5 separate regions of the Homo sapiens genome follow, and all the other regions are linked to region 1. Evidence: promoter capture Hi-C in 16 types of primary human blood cells and fetal thymus (Javierre and others, 2016). All regions are on one chromosome and are shown on one strand. The core of a region is centred on a gene start or on the middle of the fragment in contact, and the rest is flanking DNA. Distances in the headings are between cores, read along the strand shown. Region 1 holds the start of ROCK1 (Rho associated coiled-coil containing protein kinase 1). Region 2 overlaps ROCK1 (Rho associated coiled-coil containing protein kinase 1). Region 3 overlaps ROCK1 (Rho associated coiled-coil containing protein kinase 1). Region 4 overlaps ROCK1 (Rho associated coiled-coil containing protein kinase 1). Region 5 has its middle 56 kb from the start of GREB1L.

Region 1 (2,708 bases), core at 107-2,606:
CCTATGCTTAAAAATAAGTCTAATTCACATGACTTAAAATGCTGGAGCCAAGAAAAGTCGCTGCAAAGGCATTTAATGAAATACCTGGTTTGTCTAGTTGTCTTTGTTATGATTTTTGTATAAACCAAGAACGTCCTATCTTGATATATATAGTGGATTTTATATCTAAATATTTCTTGTATTTAATAAATTGAAAATAGAAATAGACATTTTTTCAAACAGTGTAAGATTTTCCTAACCTCTGACTCACATCGTAAGGCTGGTGGACTGTTCAGATGCTGTACGATGCTTTTTACTCCGATGCTTTTTGGTTCATCTGTAGCATTTTCCATCATGGGGTAAAAGATCCACATTTTCTATTTCTAGTGATCCTTAATTTGGCTTCTGAGCAAAAATAAAGTTTGATGAGGAATAAATTAAGGTAGATTTCCTGCTGAAACCAGTGAAGAACATAACTTTATCAGCGGGGGTGAGTGACAAGTCTTTCACCTTTCCTCACACCACAGTCAACGAAGTAACGGAACTAGGAGAAATGCCCATTATTCTCATGTCCTACATTAGTTCTGATAAAAATCACAATTAAGTTTCACTGAATGTTTTGACATTGAAACGGCAGCATTACACGTCCAGGAGAGAACTACAGTAGGGGTGTTATGAGAACTAACACGAACGACTTAAAAATATTGATTTTTTTCTACGAGATTATTTTCCTTTAAAAAAATTAAATTGAGCTTGACTTCTATTGACTGTATCTTCCGGAGTCAGTATTTTATGGCTCCCCTGACACACACGCCTGGCGTGGGAGGGCTGAGCGCTGCAGCGCTTCGGAACTTTCCCAGTGAATCGTAAATGGGTTCAACGCCGGGGCTCGCGGAGGGCTGTCCATGGAGTACCACTGAAAACCAAACGCCACTGGTGCTCAATGCTGGTACCTGCCGACGAAAAGGCTTCTTGCCTAAAAAAGAACCTATTGCCCCACCCTAACAGCAACAAGGAGAACAAGCACTCTCTCCTCGTCAGAAGTCTCTGGACTGGCTGCAACCCAGAGGAAACAGAGCTGGGGCATCTGCCGGGACAGCGATCAGAAGCAGCCAGAGCTCCGCCTCCGTCCGGACCTCCAAGGCCGCTCCAGAGCCCTGCATGGCTCCTCAGAGCCGGCCAAGGCGAGAACCTTGCCGGCAGCTGCTTACCCGCACTCGGCTCCTCCCAGCGGTCCGCCTTCTCCACCGCCTGCCCGCAAGGCCCCGCCCACCTCACCGCCCCGCCCCACCCCACCCTGCGGAGGCGACAGAGTGCGCGCGCGCGCGCGGGGTCCCGGCTGGTTCCCCTTCCGAGCGTCCGCGCCCCGCATGCGCAGTCTGCCCCGGCGGTCTCCGTTTGTTTGAACAGGAAGGCGGACATATTAGTCCCTCTCAGCCCCCCTCGCCCCACCCCCCAGGCATTCGCCGCCGCGACTCGCCCTTTCCCCGGCTGGGACCGCAGCCCCTCCCAGAAGCTCCCCCATCAGCAGCCGCCGGGACCCAACTATCGTCTTCCTCTTCGCCCGCTCTCCAGCCTTTCCTCTGCTAAGTCTCCATCGGGCATCGACCTCGCCCTGCCCCACCGGACACCGTAGCAGCAGCCCCAGCAGCGACGGGACAAAATGGGAGAGTGAGGCTGTCCTGCGTGGACCAGCTCGTGGCCGAGACTGATCGGTGCGTCGGGCCGGGCCGAGTAGAGCCGGGGACGCGGGGCTAGACCGTCTACAGCGCCTCTGAGCGGAGCGGGCCCGGCCCGTGGCCCGAGCGGCGGCCGCAGCTGGCACAGCTCCTCACCCGCCCTTTGCTTTCGCCTTTCCTCTTCTCCCTCCCTTGTTGCCCGGAGGGAGTCTCCACCCTGCTTCTCTTTCTCTACCCGCTCCTGCCCATCTCGGGACGGGGACCCCTCCATGGCGACGGCGGCCGGGGCCCGCTAGACTGAAGCACCTCGCCGGAGCGACGAGGCTGGTGGCGACGGCGCTGTCGGCTGTCGTGAGGGGCTGCCGGGTGGGATGCGACTTTGGGCGTCCGAGCGGCTGTGGGTCGCTGTTGCCCCCGGCCCGGGGTCTGGAGAGCGGAGGTCCCCTCAGTGAGGGGAAGACGGGGGAACCGGGCGCACCTGGTGACCCTGAGGTTCCGGCTCCTCCGCCCCGCGGCTGCGAACCCACCGCGGAGGAAGTTGGTTGAAATTGCTTTCCGCTGCTGGTGCTGGTAAGAGGGCATTGTCACAGCAGCAGCAACATGTCGACTGGGGACAGTTTTGAGACTCGATTTGAAAAAATGGACAACCTGCTGCGGGATCCCAAATCGGAAGTGAATTCGGATTGTTTGCTGGTGAGTAGCGCTGTTCTCTTTTGCTTGTCTGGGGTTTTGCATGTCTTTCCTTCCTCTTGCATTAGTCTGGTTCGCTGCAAAAGTCTCAGGTGTGCATAATCGTCTTGGAAAATGCTAGATTTCTGTTTCCTGAAGAATCTTGGAGTACCATTAACATCTCATGGTGTGGTCCTATTTGCCATTTGACTGGCTCTGTACTAACTACTCTGAACTTTTAATTCTGACTCAGTTCATGAGTACCCGAAAGATACTTACAAACTGCTATTGCAGGCATCCTATAAAAAGTTATCACGTCAGAGTTACTGCAATGTATACAGTTTGTTGAATGGCGATCGTAGTAATTAATGTTAATCTTTC
Region 2 (2,708 bases), core at 84-2,583, 120 kb after region 1:
TTGGCATCTTAAATTATTTTTGCTCAAAAGAAAGCTCATAATCTCATCCATCAAACCTGCTCTTATTCTTTATTCTCACTAACCTAGTTAATGGCCATATGGTCTTTATGAGCTAAGGCTTTGGAATCAGACAGATCAATGTTGCTCTGTAACTATTCTAAGTTAGATGAAAAATGCATGTAAAGTGCCTGTGCATAGAAAGTTTTCAGTAGCTATTATCTTGGCTACTGAACATCACATCATCATCTTGCCAAGAGTTGTTCTACTCATCAGTCATTCTCACTTAGGTTAGAACAATTTTCCTTTTTAGTCAAATCGTATTTTGGTTGTCCTTAAAATCCTTTAGTGGCTTTTCATTGTTTGCAGGGTACCTTTCAAACTCCTTGTATATATAGAATCTTTAAGTTGACACCTGCCTGTCTTTACAATCTTACTACCCTACACTTTGTTGTGTGTACCCTGTGCTTCAGCCATATTGAGCTTCTTTTATTTCCTTCACTTAAGTTAATTATTGACTGCCTACAGACAAGGCACAGCTGGGAATATCGCAGAGAATAAAACTGACAGGAAGCCCGGAGATTACATTCAGATAGTGAATATAGACAAAAAAAAATAATAATACATAAATGAAAATACATACAGCTTGTAATTATTAATGGGAAGGAAATACATATTAATATGATTGTTTTGACTTGGCACTGCCCTGGATGGGGGTTCTGAGGAAGGCTTTCTGAGCTAGTAATATTTGAGGTAAGAACTGAAAGTCAAAATGAACCACCTGTTAAATGAGCTGGAGAAAGTGCATTACAGGCAGAAGTGATAGTAAGTTCAGTATTCTTATTCTAAGATTTGTATTAAGCCACTAGCACATTTTAAGCTTCTGGGATGTGTAATTTATATTTTTAAAAGATCATTCCCGCTGCTCTGTGGGGAATGCTTTCAAGAGTGAGAACAGTGATAAAAAGGGAGATCAGTTAGAAAGCTATACGCTGTAAACACTGGTAGTAGTAGAGAGGGAAAGAAGTCGAGGTATAGAGGAGAAGAGTGATGAATTGGATAGAAAGAGGCCGGGTGCGGGGACCCACACCTGTAATGCTAGCACTTTGGGAGGGCAAGGCAGGCAGATTATTTGAGGTCAGGAGTTTGAGACCAGCCTGGGCAACATGGTGAAACCCCCATCTCTACTGAAAAATACAAAAATTAGCTGCGTGTAGTGGTGCGTACCTGTAATCTCAGCTACTCAGGAGACTGAGGCAGGAGTATTCTTAGAATCCAGGAGGCGGAAGTTGCAGTGAATCGAGATTGCACCACTGTATTCCATCCTGGGCAACAGAGCGAGACACCATCTCAAAAAAAGAAAAAAAAAAGACTGAGTCTAACTGGGGTTGGAGTGGTTTGGGGATAGGCCAGAAGTAAAGGCATCTATTGTGGATATGTTAACTTTAATAAGATTATTAGATATCTAGGTGGAGATGTTAAATAGTCAATTGGTATCTAAGTCTGGAGCTCAGGAGAGAGATACCAAGAGTCAGAAGAACATAGTGGATGGATTTGTGTTTGATTAAACAGAAGGGTCTTAAGAGGTGACAGTTTTATTGGTGCAGCTAAGTTTGTAAGTTTGGGGGGAAAGATAAGGAATAGTTTATTTATATTTATTTAATAGTTTATATTTTGTCACCTAGAGGGTGGTCTCCAAGAGTGGGAAAGCACACTTTAAATAAACTTGAATCCTTATGGGGCAACTTACTAGTTACATGAACATGGAAAAGTTAACCTCTCAGAAGCTTAGTTATATTTCAAAAAAGGAGCCTCAGTGTAGACTAATATATTCCAGTAATAATTAAAAGAGGTATACTACTGTGGAATCTTATTCATCTGAATTGTATAAATTGGAGTTCCTACCATAGCCTTAAGCCTCTTCAACCTTTTCTGGAACAATGCAGGGTATAAATTAATAACCACAGCCTTATTTTTCTGCTTTTGCTTGATGTATGTTCATTGTTCTTTGTTAATTCACTTCCTTTCTAGCTATACTCTTCACCTTCTTGTCTGAAAGTGGTACCGATTAATCTCTCATCACTGGGCAAGAGCTGGGTTTAGAAGATTTTATTACTGTATTATATTTTATAACTCCTTTTCTTTAGAGATTTCTGCTATATAAATAGTTTACATAATGTGAGAATTTCTATAATTACTAGCTCTATTCAAGTCCCAGAATAAAAACAATAGAGACATTTGAAACCAGTTTACAGCCCATATAAAGTGAAATGTGTTAAAGTACTCTTTCTTTAAATGTATGTTTGTAACTTTTTGCTTTCCCAGAGATGGAAAAAAAGCTGAAAGAAGAAAGAGAAGCTCGAGAGAAGGCTGAAAATCGGGTTGTTCAGATTGAGAAACAGTGTTCCATGCTAGACGTTGATCTGAAGCAATCTCAGCAGAAACTAGAACATTTGACTGGAAATAAAGAAAGGATGGAGGATGAAGTAAGAAAAATAGTACTGACTTTGTTCATCTATTAAAAGAGAAACGGTTATATAAGTTATGACTGGAGTTATCTATAATTTAAACACCATGAAGGAGATTTGAATGAAATAATTGACATGGGTCTGTGTTCACTGCTGTATGGTCACCCCAGCACCTAGAATTTTCCTCTTCAAATAGTTATTGAACATTCACTCTGTGTGATCTATGCCATTTTTCACTATGAC
Region 3 (2,708 bases), core at 105-2,604, 110 kb after region 1:
TATATATTAGGGAGGAGAGCCAGTTAAGGGAGACTCAGAAGGGGCAAAAATGACTAAATGGAGAAAGGAGGACTTATTCTATACTATCTACCATTTGGTACCTTTTAAATTTTGTATTTTTATTAAGATATTGAATTATCAAGCAATTGAACTCTTGAAAAATAAATAATATTAAAACTAGCTTTATAAGTATACTATCAGTGATCTTATAAAGGGAATAAAGGAGTTTGAGATTTACAACAGTAAGAAGAAATCTTTTTGCACTCTGTATTAGAAGATAATGTTCTACTTTTTAATGAATTTAAAATGCAGGTACTTCCAAATTGGAATTTGGCTTTGGGAGTGGACCTAATGTAGCTGACTATTATGGCCTAAGACTAAATGTCTTTTTTTAAAAAAGGATTTATATGTTTCCCCTATGAAAATGTTGTAATTTCTATATATTATTCTTTCATTTTCTAGTTTCTACATTAAAGGATCAGTTGGAAGACTTAAAGAAAGTCAGTCAGAATTCACAGCTTGCTAATGAGAAGCTGTCCCAGTTACAAAAGCAGGTAAGTGTTTCAAATGAGGTTCCTTTTTAAAAAAATTGTAGATAATTAAATTATATCGTACTTTGGTCAGAAACCTATTTTTTTGCTTTCTTTTTAAATAGCTAGAAGAAGCCAATGACTTACTTAGGACAGAATCGGACACAGCTGTAAGATTGAGGAAGAGTCACACAGAGATGAGCAAGTCAATTAGTCAGTTAGAGTCCCTGAACAGAGAGTTGCAAGAGAGAAATCGAATTTTAGAGAATTCTAAGTCACAAACAGACAAAGATTATTACCAGCTGCAAGCTATATTAGAAGCTGAACGAAGAGACAGAGGTCATGATTCTGAGATGATTGGAGACCTTCAAGGTAATATTTTTTCTTATTGTGGTAAAATATACGTAACATGAAATTTATTATAACATTTTAACCATTTTTATATATACAGTTCAGTGGGATTAAATGCAGTTCACAATGTATGCAACCATCATCATATAAGTGGAATCATACAGTGTTTGTCCTTTTGCGTCTGGCTTTTTTCACTTAGCACAATGTCTTCAAGGTTTATCCATGTTGTGTGTGTCAGATTTTCCTTCCTTTTTAGGGCTCAGTAATATTCCATGGTATGTGTATACCACATTTTGTTCATCCACTCATCTATCAATGGAAGGAATATTTTATAATTTTTATTTTTAATTGTTAAAAATATATAACATAAAATTTACCATCTTGACCATTTTTAAGTCTAAGTTAATATATTTATGATCATATTACCCTCATAAAGAAAATGACTTTGGTGAAACCAGAAATGGTTGCATTCTTTTTTATTGTTTACGTTTTTTTGAGATAGGAACTTGCTCTGTTGCACAGGCTGGAGTGCAGCGGCATGATCACAGCTCACTGCAGCCTTGAACTCCTGAGGTCAAGCAATTCTCCCACCTCAACCTCCTGAGTAGCTGGGACTACAGGTGCATGCCACCATGCCCAGCTAATTTTTGCATTTTTTGTAGAGACGGGGTTTCACCATTTTGCCCAGGCTGGTCTCAAACTCCTGAGCTCAAGCGATCCGCCCACCTCGACCTCCCAAAGTGCTGGCATTATGGGTGTGAGACACCACACCAGGCCAGCATTCTTTCTCTTTTAGAATAATGCCCACATTTGTATCACATTGTAATTTCTTCACCCTCACAGGTACTCCTGCAGGGTATGTAATGTGGATATTTTTCAGTTTTACAGACAAATTAACCAAAAACTTCATTTAAAAACTTGCCTAATTCATAAAGGTTTTACTCAAAGTGAGACTAATCCAGGCAAAGAGGATTATCACTATTAAAACCTAGGAATTCCTCATGCATCGTTGGTAGTAATAGAAAGTCAGTTGCAGAAATAAAATCCCATTACACATTAAAAGTTAGATACTTGGGAATGTTTGAACTGGAGATATTGACAGTCTTTGTGAATCTAAGAGGCAGAAGATTGAGTATAACTAAGTGAATAAATGAACAGTTTTTAAATAGTAATAAAATTCAGTTTGTTTTCAAAAAGATTCCTGGCTTTACCTACTCACATATTTTTCTATTTTCTATTCCTGTTAGCAGCAGCATCCATACTACCTAATCAAAACAAATATGCATAGAAGTTGCCAGATGTCTCAGGAAAAAATTGGAGGGAGGAGTTCTTTTTAACCTTAGTTAGAGATGGGAACATAGTTTCAGGTCCCTTGGGGCTTGATGATTAGCTATAATTCAGTGGAGAGAGGTCAGGGTCAGTTTTTGTGACTAAGGAAACAGAAAATACAATCTCCTGTTGGTTCTTAGCTGAGGAGTGTTGTGCAATCATATTTCTCAGGGACCAGGCTTAAAATAGATCTGATTATAACTAAGAAAGTAACCACTTTATATGTAATAGGAAAGTCACAGACTTCCTTAAATTGTTTTCCTAGGCCTTTTTATACAGCTTATTAGCTGTTTGAAAGTCTCTTCATCTCCCTTCTTTATCTGTAAACCAAGGAGATAAGAATAGGTTACCTCTATAAATCCTTCCAATTCTAAAATTCTTATAAGTTTGTGATCTGTGTTTGACTGAGCTTTAAGCTCCTTGCTTCAGAGGCAGAGATCATCCATGTACTATCAACAGTGGTTTTTAACTGAATCTATTTTTTAGATATCAGTAAAA
Region 4 (2,708 bases), core at 64-2,563, 87 kb after region 1:
CCTGGGTTCAAGTGATTCTTGTGCCTCAGCCTCTGAGTAGCTGGGATTACAGGTGCGTACCACCATGCCTGGCTAATCTTTGTATTTTTATTAGAGATGGGGTTTTGCCATGTTGGCCAGGCTGTTGGCCAGGCTGGTCTCAAACCCCTGGCCTCAAGTGATCCACCCACCTTGGCCTCCCAAAGTAATCCCAGCGGATTACAGGTGTGAGCCACTGCACCTGGCCCTGGCAAAATATTGATTAGCTTTATTGTAATATGTAAGCATAATTTTGAATATACAGATATGAAATAGAAAACCTCTGAAATTCTTATCCCTGAAATCCAGATATACTTTTAATACCAAGGGCAGAAATCATTGTTGCTTAATTATAGCTGAATTAAACATGATTTTTAAAATAGCCTTAAGCTATATTCCTAATATAGTAACTCCCGTTTTGTAAAAAGTTACCTAAATGACCAGATTCTATGTAAAAGCACCAATATAATATGCAAATGTACCTTGATAGAGAAAAGACAGAAGGTGGAAGAATTAATGGATGTATACAAGTGATGTCCTTACATTTCCTTTGCTGCATTCAAGCTTATATTACTAATTTTGCAGAAGACTAAAATGTCAGTCTCAGTCACATAGCATGTTAAGTTTAGAAAATATCTTAGAGATGAAACAGTCTCATCTAATTTAGATGCCACTGGCATTGCTATATGCCTTATTTATATTACATAAGCAGAATCTCACATTGAATTTCTGAGATGCTTAGTAGTCAATGGAATTAAATTGCACCACACCTAGAATTTGTCATTTGTTATATGGGACTTTTCCTCTATAAAGCTGCTACACAGCCCCTATTATTGTCTTAAAGTTATTTGAATCTCCATTTGATCTGAATAATTTTTCAAGGAAAACCTAGGAAGTGGCATATTTCTAGCTGTTTCTTTTATAGTACCATTGTACTGTGTATGTTTATTGATACTTAATGGATACTTGATTATCTTCTGTTATTCACTAATTTTTAAAATTTACTTAAACTGTTCTTTTGGAACATTATTAATATCTGGTGTGTTAACACATGCCTCCAATAGCTATGAAGTATACTGTAACTATTTGATCTCCTTTTGCAATAGCTCTACTGGTTAATCAGGGTGCTGACTGTAGTGGTGGTGATGGTAGAAGTAGTGATTATGGTAGTCGTAGCATGGTGGCAGTAGGAGCAACACTGGCAGTACTAGTACCTTACCTTTATATAATATTTGGTAGCTTAAAAAATTGTTTACATATATGATCTATTTAGATTGTTTGAGAATCTTGTGAGACATCTAAAAAAGACCTCTAAATTAGTTCACTAATAGCTTTATTTATATACAATTCTAACTTTACACTGAATTTAAAGAACTCTGCAAGGCTGGGAGTCCCAAAAGATTAGCAGCATCACCTAAACTTTGGTTCTGTTATTTCACCCACATAGGCAAAAACTTTTTTGACCCGAAGAGGCAATATTATGCTTTGCTGAAGGATAGTTGGGTGCAGGAGAGGTGGTTATGCATATGTCTGCAGAAGTCAGCAGTTTCTTACCCCCAATTCTTATATACAAAAAGCTCTGAAAACTGAATGTTTTTAAGTTATTTGTTTGGTGGAAAAACCTGTCATAACCTGCTCTCATGACCAGAAAGCCTAATCTGAACTAACTTGAGACTATGGTTTTTATTTATCCTACTTGGTATGAATATTCTTATGTTTTGCTGCAGGAATATTAAGTCATATGTTTACAGGCTGCTACTATTTTTAGACCTAACTGGGTGTTTTATTTAATATATGTATCATTTCTGAATTATGTTTATAAAAATTATGAACCTATACTTAATTTTTAAAAACAAAGTTACTATAACTGAACATAAAATAGGCGTGTAGTATTTATTATTGGTTGTCATGGGATATTACAGAGTTTTTTGTTTTCTTTTCTTTTTAAACTTTTCTTTCCCTCAGATACTTATCTTCAGCAAATCCTAATGATAACAGAACTAGCTCCAATGCAGATAAAAGCTTGGTAGGTATTTTCTTAGTATTAAGAAAATTGTTTTTAAAATTGTTTTGTGGATAATATATTTGTGGGTATGATAGTAAATTTATATATTGTTTGTGAAGCTGTGGTTAGCTGAACTTAGATTTTTATGGCACTTTCATCTCCCATCTCCTTTTCAGTCTGATTTTTTGCTCAAATATCAAATGGAATAATATATTTGGAGGCAGTTAGTAAACTAAATTGTTACACAGATTGACAGTGGTCATCTTTTTTAATCTTCGGAATCAGGAACTATGATATATCAATGTATCATTAAGGGTCTTGACAGGCAAACAGATTACATGTTCAAAATATTTAAACAGAGAGTTTTGTGTGTATGGCAAATATACGTAACATGAAATTTACCGTTTTAATCATTTTTAAGTGTGCAGTTCGGTGGCATTAAGCACCTTCACATAGTTGTGCAGCCATCACTGCCATCCATCTCTAGAACCTTTTCATCATCCCAAACTAAAAATCTATACCAATTAAACAGTAACTCCTCATTTCACCCTCCCCCCAGCTCCTGGTAACCACTGTTCTACTTTCTGTCTCAATGAATTTGCCTATTCCAGGTACCTCATATGAGGTGGAATCATACAATATTTATCCATATGTGACTGGCTTATTTCATGTAGCATAATGTCTT
Region 5 (2,708 bases), core at 156-2,655, 74 kb before region 1:
CACATGTAAGTTATATGCAAATACTACACTATTTTATATCAAGGATTGGTGCATCTGGGAATTTTAGTACCTTTGGGGGTCCTGGAATCAATCCCCCATGGATACCGATGGTATATATACATATCTCATATAAACTAGGCATGCCATTCTCAGGGACCTGAAAGCCATTCTTTTGAAATGTAACCACCAGGAAGGATAGGACCTGTCTCTCAGTCTGTAGGAGAGTCCTAACTTCAATAATTGCCAGCTAGTAGGCCAGGTGTGGTGGCTTATGCCTGTGATCCCAGCATTTTGGGAGACTGAGGTAAGTGGATTACTTGAGGCCAGGAGTTCGAGGCCAGCCTGGCCAACATGATGAAATCCCATGTCTACTAAAAATACAAAAATTAGCTAGGCGTGGTGTTGTATGCCTGTAGTCCCAGCTACTCGGGAGGCTGAGGCAGCAGAATTGCTTGAACCTGGGAGGCAGGGGTTGCAGTGAGCCAAGATCATGCCACTGCACTCCAGCCTGGATGACAAAGAGATACTCTGTCTCAAAAAAAAAAAAAAAAAAGCCAGCTAGTAGACATAGCTGGCCTAATCACATTTACACTCACCCACCTTTTTTTTTTTTTAGAGTGTCACTCTATTGCCCAGATTTGAGGCGCAGTGGCATGATCACAGCTCACTGCAGCCTCGACCTCCTCAAACAATCTGGCTCAAGTGATCCTCTTGCCTCAGCCTCCCAAGTAGCTGGGACTACAGGTGTGCACCACTAGGCCCAGCTAATTTTTGTAGTTTTTGTAGATGGAGTTTCACCATGTTGGCCAGGCTGGTCTCAAACTCCTGAGCTCAAGTGATCCATCTGCCTTGGCTTCCCAAAGTTCTGGGATTACAGGTGTGAGCCACTGTGACAGGTTGACCCAACTTCATACCCACTTTTTGTAATTTTTCACTTCCCTGACTGTATTTGAGCCCCCGTTTATTCCCCTTCCCTTCTCTGTTATTCTTTTATTAAATTGCTCAGTTACCTCTGGATAAATCGGAATGGAGCTCACCTCTTTCAGCTACTGTCAGTAGTTACTGAATAAAATCTGTTTTCATTACTTTAATGTCTGTCTTTGATTATCTTTAGCAATTCACACATGTTGAAAATGACATACAGGTTGGGTATGCTGGCTCATTCCTGTAATCCCAGTACTTTGGAAGGCTGAGGCTGGAGGATTGCTCGAGCCCAGGAGTTTAAGACCAGCCTGGGCAACATAGTCTCTACAAAAAAAAAAAAAAAAAAAAATTAGCCAGGTGAGGTGGTGCACGCCTGTGGCCCCAGTTACCTAGGAGACTGAGGTGGGAGGATCACTTGAGCCAGGGAGGTTGAGGCTGCAGTCAGCTGTGATTGTGCCACTGTACTCCACAGAGTGAGACCTTGTCTCAAAAGAAAAAAGACTGGGCACAGTGGCTCACACCTGCAAACCCGGCACTTTGAGAGAACAAGGCAGGTGGATCACCTGAGGTCAGGAGTTCAAGACCAGCCTGGCCAACATGGTGAAACCCCATCTCTACTAAAAATACAAAAATTAGCCGGGCATGGTGGCATGTGCCCATAATCCCAGCTACTTGAGAGGCTGAGGCAGGAGAATTGCTTGAACCTGGGAGGCAGAGGCTGCAGTGAGCTAAGATTGTACACTGCAACTGCACTCCAGCCTGGGTAACAGAGTGAGACTGTCTCAAAGAAAAAAAAAAAAAGAAAGAAAGAAAAGAAAAGTACAAGGCAGTTCATTATAGCATTGTTTGTGATAGTCACAGATTTGTAACAACTTTTAATTTGTAGGAGTCCATCAAGAGGGGCCTGCTTGAATAAAGCATCATAGCACATCTATACAAACAGTACTATTCAACCATAAAAAACAAGGCACTTTATGAAATGGTAGAAAGATTGCCAAGATTTGTAGTTAGATGAAAAAAGGCGCCGAACAGTATGTGTTGTCATTATTATTTGTCTAGAAAAAGAAAGAAAACAGGTGAATATCAATTGTATGCCATTTATATACTGGAAGGACAATAAGACACTGAGAACAGTGGTTACCTGTTATAAGGAGACAGCAATTACCCCTGGAAGGGCAAGCAGGCACCTGATATCCAGAGGTGGGCAGAGGCAGACACAGTTCATACTTTGTTGGGGAGCTGCTTCCTGGGCAGCTGATCCTGGACTTCCAGGAGGTGCTAGGCCATGGCAGATGGCCAGCACTGAGAACAGGCTTGAAGGGATGAAAAGGTAATTTTTTTTTTTCAAGATGGAATTTCACTCTTGTTGCCCAGGCTGGAGTGCAGTGGCACGATCTCAGCTCACTGCAACCTCTGCCTCTGGAGTTCAAGTGATTCTCCTGCCTCAGCCTCCAAAGTGGCTGGAATTACAGGAAGGCACTACCACACCCGGCTAATTTTTTGTATTTTTAGTACAGATGGGGTTTCACCATGTTGGTCAGGCTGGTCTTGAACTCCTGACCTCAAGTGATCCACCTGCCTCAGCCTCCCAAAGTGCTGGGCGTGAGCTGCTGTGCCTGGCCTGAAAAGGTAATTTTTGGAGAAGGCAGAGATCAACAGGGCCAAGGTTAGTGGGCCATGAAGCAGAGTGACTACAGAGCTTCAGCCAGCAGATTGGATTACATTTAATACTCTCCTTGCTCCAAAGTTCTGGAGAGGCATCAGAAAGGGAAATGCCACTTAGC

Evidence for each region. The method cuts DNA at HindIII sites, captures the fragments that hold promoters and counts their contacts. A CHiCAGO score of 5 or more calls a contact.
Region 2: a contact is called between a fragment that was not itself captured here and the fragment with the promoter of ROCK1 in region 1, in 3 of 17 cell types (naive B cells, fetal thymus and total CD4 T cells). The highest score is 5.2, in naive B cells.
Region 3: a contact is called between a fragment that was not itself captured here and the fragment with the promoter of ROCK1 in region 1, in 2 of 17 cell types (naive CD4 T cells and total B cells). The highest score is 5.4, in naive CD4 T cells.
Region 4: a contact is called between a fragment that was not itself captured here and the fragment with the promoter of ROCK1 in region 1, in 7 of 17 cell types (naive CD4 T cells, naive B cells, activated CD4 T cells and 4 more). The highest score is 7.4, in naive CD4 T cells.
Region 5: a contact is called between a fragment that was not itself captured here and the fragment with the promoter of ROCK1 in region 1, in 1 of 17 cell types (neutrophils). The highest score is 5.2, in neutrophils.

The regions. Positions count from the first base shown.
Region 1 is chr18:21,110,461-21,113,168 of GRCh38, reverse strand. It overlaps ROCK1 (Rho associated coiled-coil containing protein kinase 1), which reads left to right and starts at 1,356. Exons shown (of 33, transcript NM_005406.3): 1 at 1,356-2,351. The coding sequence starts at 2,259. RefSeq lists enhancers at 758-817, 848-1,067, 1,167-1,461, 1,115-1,703 and a silencer at 1,108-1,497. The HindIII fragment of the contact is 6,843 bases long and covers 1-2,708 here.
Region 2 is chr18:20,986,725-20,989,432 of GRCh38, reverse strand. ROCK1 (Rho associated coiled-coil containing protein kinase 1) reads left to right here. Exons shown (of 33, transcript NM_005406.3): 19 at 2,323-2,483. Among named protein-coding and RNA genes, the nearest start is that of ROCK1, 120 kb to the left of the region's middle. The HindIII fragment of the contact is 907 bases long and covers 880-1,786 here.
Region 3 is chr18:21,004,545-21,007,252 of GRCh38, reverse strand. It overlaps ROCK1 (Rho associated coiled-coil containing protein kinase 1), which reads left to right. Exons shown (of 33, transcript NM_005406.3): 15 at 463-554; 16 at 656-902. Among named protein-coding and RNA genes, the nearest start is that of ROCK1, 110 kb to the left of the region's middle. The HindIII fragment of the contact is 3,787 bases long and covers 1-2,708 here.
Region 4 is chr18:21,022,956-21,025,663 of GRCh38, reverse strand. It overlaps ROCK1 (Rho associated coiled-coil containing protein kinase 1), which reads left to right. Exons shown (of 33, transcript NM_005406.3): 11 at 1,984-2,044. Among named protein-coding and RNA genes, the nearest start is that of ROCK1, 88 kb to the left of the region's middle. The HindIII fragment of the contact is 1,458 bases long and covers 585-2,042 here.
Region 5 is chr18:21,184,994-21,187,701 of GRCh38, reverse strand. No RefSeq gene overlaps it. Among named protein-coding and RNA genes, the nearest start is that of GREB1L, 56 kb to the left of the region's middle. The HindIII fragment of the contact is 3,283 bases long and covers 1-2,708 here.